Regions from separate parts of the Homo sapiens genome. Here region 1 is linked to region 2. The links are contacts of gene promoters, found by promoter capture Hi-C in human tissues and cell types (Jung and others, 2019). All regions are on one chromosome and are shown on one strand. The core of a region is centred on a gene start or on the middle of the fragment in contact, and the rest is flanking DNA. Distances in the headings are between cores, read along the strand shown.

Region 1 (2,700 bases), core at 89-2,588, 150 kb before region 2:
CTGGATCAGGGTCCCATGAGCCAGCGTGGCTTATGGTCCTTAGGCACCCTTTCCACCCCTACCCCAGGCCCTTGCTGTCCCCTGCCTGGCCTCCCTCTCTCACAAGACTCTCTCCTTTTGCTCAGTTGTCAAATTCTCTCACCACCCCCTTAAGAAATGATTAACTCACCCTCCTCTTCCTAGAGCTCCCTGCTCCCATTGCTGCCCTTCCTCCACAGCATGGACACCCTCTGTGCCACCTGGTATTTCACTGACTCCTTTAGGCAAGGACTCCATCCCTTTTATTCCTTGCACTTAGAATAGCACCTGGTACACAGCAGGTGTTCCATAAATATTTGTTCAATACACTTAATAAATGGGGGCTGGAGCGGTGACCACACCTGTAATCCCAATACCTTGGGAGGCCAAGGAAGGGGCATTGCTTAAGCCCAGGAGCTCAATAGCAGCCTAGGCAACATAGCGAAAAAATTAAAAATTAGCCAGGTGTGGTGGTGGGCACCTGTGGTCCCAGCTACTTGGGAGGCTGAGGTGGGAGGATTGCTTGTGCCTGTAAGCTCAAGGCTGCAGTGAGCAGTGATCACACCACTGTACTTGATATGGTTTGGTGGTGTCCCTACCCAAATCTCACCTTGAATTGTAATAATCCCCATGTGTCAAGGGCAGGGCTAGCTGGAGATAACTGAATCACAGGGGGATAACTGAACAGTATGGGTTCCCCCGTATTGTTCTTGTGGTAGTGAATAAGTCTCACAAGATCTGAAGGTTTTATAAATAGGAGTTCCCCTGCACAAGCTCTCTTGCCTGCCGCCATGTAAGACGTGACTGCTCCTCATTCGCCTTCTGCCATGATTGCGAGGCCTCCCCAGCCATGTGGAACTATGAGTCCATTAAACCTCTTTCCTTTATAGATTACCCAGTCTTGGCTATGTCTTTATTAGCAGCATGAGAATGGACTAATACAGTACTCCAGCTTGGGCAACAGAGCAAGACCCTCTCTCTAATAATAATAAATAATGATAAATGGTATGGCTTATGGTTCATCGCCAACAATGGAACCACATTTTGATCCTGCATCCGAGTTGCCAGAACTTTCAGGTACCCGTGCAGCAGAGATTTCCCATCTCTGGAATAAAGAGCAGGAGGAGGATGATCACTGCACAAGCAGCCGGGGGGCCTCACAGGTCCCTACATCCTGGGAGTGTACAGAGAGAAGAAAAGGAAGCTGTGGACTCGCCCCCACCACTCTGTGAAGGACTCACTGAGTTCTGAAAGCTTCCACAAGTGTCCGGGCAGCCCCTCAGCTCTTCACAGCAGGAAGCGGATGTGCAGACAGCCATAGCTCATTGTTGCAGCCTGGCATGTTTCATTAGTGGTTTCACAATCCACACTCTGGCCCTCTCTTCCTCTCTGCCTGCGGGGGGACGCTGGGGAGGCGAGTTCTGCCCCACAGCCTTGCACCTGAGCTCCGTCTGCTCCACGTTGCCTGAGCTCTAGCTCCCAGGGAGCGTCTGAAAATGCCCTGGCCAGAATCCCTGGGGAGCTGCAGCAATCCTGAACCGGGCCTCATCCCAGAGTTCCCGTGTATTTCATGCAGGTGTGGCTTGGGCACTAGCAGTTTTTAAAGTTCCCTAGGGAATTCTAATGCACAGCCAAACTTGAGAATTGCCCTGTTAATGGATCTTAGTGAATAGAAATAATATTAACTATCCTTTATGAAGCTGCTTCTGCCTGCCAATGCTTCTTCGCAAATGTCCCAAATCGAGCTCCCTCTGGGGGCCAGGCAGGGTGTGTAATTGGAAGAAGTGGACTGAGGGAGAGACAATAGGGAAAAGTGGGGACTGTGGTGAACTGGGGAACCACGGCCCATCCCAAAGGGGCAGCCACGGCTCAGTACAGCTGATTGTCAACACCCCAGAAAGCAGATCCAGTGGGTGAGAGCCTCCTACGAGTTAAGAGAAACAGGAAATCTGAATTTTAATGTGAAATTTGCCAGTTAAAAAATATTAGCAACTCATGGAGATTGGATGGGAGGCGAATCATGCTCCTTGGTTGAGTGGAGCCTGTGGGTGCCCAGTTTGAGGCCCTTGCTTCAGGTCCATTTATTTTTTCTTTGCTGCAATGTCCATGGGAGCTAGATATTTCCTATTCTCTTTTTAGAGGTGAGGAAACAGACTCAGAGAGGTAAAATTGTTTCCAATTTGCTGAGGTAGGCAGAGTAATAGCTCCCAAAGATGTCCATGTCCTAATCCCTGCAACCTGTGATGTGCTACCTTCCTTGCCAGGGGAATTAAGTGGCAGATAGATTTAGGGTTGCCGATCAGCTGCCTTTAAGAGAGGGAAGTTATCATGGGTTGCTGGGTGGGTCCAGTATAATCACAGGGGCCCTTTAAATGTGGAAAAGGGAGGTAGGAGGGTCTGTGTCAGAATGAGGAAGACAAGACCAGTCTTTCCTGGCCTTGAGGATGGAGGAAGAGGCTATGAACCAAGGAACGCAGGCTTCTAGAAGCCAGAATAGGCAAGAAAATGGATTCTTCCCCATAACCTCCAGAAGGAGTGCAGCCCTGCCAACACTTGGATTTTAGCTCATCTTAGACTTCTGACTTCCAGAACTGTAAGAGAATCACTTTGTGCTGTTTTAAGCCACTGAAGTTGTGGCAGTTTACAGCAGCCCCAGGAAATGAACGCACCTACCCAGCTAAA
Region 2 (2,700 bases), core at 155-2,654:
TGTCTGAAAATGGGAAATTGTAAAATGGAGCAGGTGTAGGCAACAATTTGGTCACAAAAGGAAAATCAACTGGGGAGGAAGACAAGAAAAGCCAGCGAGGGCTGAGTCCGGAACCTGCGTCAGCACCCGTGAGTCCCCGAAGAGGAAGCTCCACAGGACCTCCGCGGTCAGCCCGGCTCCTGGGCCACACCCTGACATTAGCCCTCCCGGGGCACACTCTGTGTTGGTTTTTTAAAATTCTGATGGCTGATTTCCTGGGTTTGAGCTCCTAGCCCTGCCAACTACTAGCTGTGTGACCTCCCCTCCGGCTTCAGGTTCCTCTTCTGTGAAATGGAGACAGTAATAACTACTTCAAAGATTGTGGTGAGGATTAAAAACAAAACAAACACATCCCCCAAACCGCAAAACCACACTTCACCTACAGTCCACAGCGCTTAGTGGAGACCCTAGAGAACAGCAATTACTCGATACACTATTGGCTTTCATTGCAACTCTTCCAGGAATAAAATGAATGAAATGTTAGTTGAGGAAAGGATGCAACAAGGGGGAACAAAGGCACACATGTATCTCATCAAAGCAAACCGCTTTGTTCTCGATATGACTGTGACATGGGTGTTCAGACGCTAACACCAGCGTTCGCCAGCTGTGTTACCCTGAGAGTGTCATTTCACCTCTCAGGGCCTCAGTTATCTATAAAATGGGAATGACATGGCACTTGTCCCTGCAGGCCATCAGGAAATGCTTGGAAAGCATGTTTCGAGGTGCCTGGGGCACAGTCAGCTGTCAAAGGGGGATGGCTATGCTGTCCCTTTCTATTTTTTTTTTTTTTTTCTGAGATGGAATCTCACTCTGTCACCCAGTCTGGAGTGCAATGGCGACATCTCAGCTCACTACAACTTCCACCTCCCGGGTTCAAGCGATTCTCCAGCCTCAGCATCCCGAGTAGCTGGGATCACAGGCATGCGCCACCATGCCCGGTTAATTTTTGTAATTTTAGTAGAGATGGGGTTTCGCCATGTTGGCCAGGCTAGTGTCAAACTCCTGAGCTTAAACAGTCCACCTACCTCGCCTCCCAAAGTGCTGGGATTACAGGCGTGAGCCACCACGCCCAGCTGGTCTACTATTCTTTAGGATACTGCTATTGTCATCATGATCTGGACCAAGCGAAACAGGAGGAAAGAGAAGTAGAAATCTCACCCCGGGAGCTACCGCTGGTCCTTGGAAGGAAGAAGTACTGTACCTTCTCTGCCCGGGTCAGCAGGAGCCTGGGCCATGCTGACAGCAGCTGCAAGGAGTCGGAGAGACTTGGCAGGTGTGCAGGCTTCTGCACTGTGGCCCTGAGAGGGTGGGCTAGGTCGAGGCTGGGGCTTCTGAAGTGGCCGAGCCTGGTGCTTCTTGCAGCTCTGAACCCACAAGGGGAGGGATGCCAGCTTCCACTGGGCAGGTGTCAGCTGCTTACAGCCCGGAAATAGATGCCTAGCCAGGCCGGCCAGATTCGGTTTCAGGAGAAAAAGAAAATGAAACTTCTCTGTTCGTCTTTTGAAAGAAAAAAAAAGTGGAAGCCAGGTGGATGAGCAAGACAGAGTTGGGGACCTGACTTGATGTTGACAGGGAGGAGCTGTAAACTTGGCAAGACCAGAGCGTCCTCCGAAGAGGCCTTTGAGACAGAGGACTTCCCTCACCTTCCCCGTTCCAGGCACAGCCCACCTGGACCTCTACATTTTTATTTTCTGAATCAGCATCAGAGAACTGAAGAAAATAAAAATAAAAAAAAGAGCATGCACCACGTGGAGGGGGATGCCAGGGCGTGGCATCACTCTGATGATGTGAGGGGCTGGGGCTGGTTATCTGGTTTCTGTGTTTTTGTTTGTTTTTGAGACAGGGTTTCTGTCATCCAGGCTGGAGTGCAGTGGCGTGATCACGGCTCACGGCAGCCTCGACCTTCCGGACTCCAGCGATCCTCCCACCTCTCAGCCTCCCTAGTAGCTGGGACCACAGGCCTAGACCACCATGCCCGGCTAATTTTTGTATTTTCTGTAGAGATGGGGTTTCATCGTGTTGCCCAGGCTGGTCTCAAACTCCTGGGCTCAAGCGATCTGCCTGCCTTGGCCTCCCACAGTGCTGGGATTCCAGCCGCAAGCCCCCACGCCCGGCCCCGCTGGTTCCTGTAGTACTTCCTCCTCGGGGACTCACAGGTGCTACAGAGGCACCGTCCCCAGCTCTCAGTGGCTTTTCTTGTCTTCTTCCAGTTTGTTTCCCTTGCCCACACTAGGGGCAGAACATTTAGGTGCGTGAAGGCCCTGAGATTGTTCTTGTGTGTATCCATGTGAGCCTCTTTAATGAACACCTATTATGCGTTTTCCAATCTCAAGTGCTCCTCCAACCCATCTACAGGGTAGGGGCCAGTTCTGTCTTCTTCTCAGGGGGGAAACTGAGGCTAGAAAGGCAAGATCACTTGTCCAAGGCCACACAGAGTCCATGACAGAGCTTGTCCTGTCCATTCCCCAATTGTGTTTCCTGATCTATAACACCCAGAAGTCACTGGTGAATCACCCTTAGTGCACAGATGGCGTGGAGTTCCCCGCCTCATCATAAAACTTGCTTATTAATTCCAGAGTCAGATGCCTGGGGTCAGCAGCCGAGTGGTTCGGAATGCAAGCCTGGGTCAGCATGCTTGGGTCCAAACCTGGCTCCGCCATT

Evidence for each region. The method cuts DNA at HindIII sites, captures the fragments that hold promoters and counts their contacts. A contact is called where the count stands out against the background at its distance.
Region 1: a contact is called between a fragment that was not itself captured here and the fragment with the promoter of ZBP1 in region 2, in 1 of the 25 tissues and cell types used here (ovary).

What each region holds. Positions count from the first base shown.
Region 1 is chr20:57,472,025-57,474,724 of GRCh38, forward strand. No RefSeq gene overlaps it. Among named protein-coding and RNA genes, the nearest start is that of CTCFL, 52 kb to the right of the region's middle. RefSeq lists enhancers at 983-1,484, 1,485-1,984. The HindIII fragment of the contact is 7,450 bases long and covers 1-2,700 here.
Region 2 is chr20:57,619,022-57,621,721 of GRCh38, forward strand. It overlaps ZBP1 (Z-DNA binding protein 1), which reads right to left and starts at 1,405. Exons shown (of 8, transcript NM_030776.3): 1 at 1,241-1,405. The coding sequence starts at 1,274. RefSeq lists enhancers at 1-104, 1,185-1,234, 1,365-1,654. The HindIII fragment of the contact is 12,502 bases long and covers 1-2,700 here.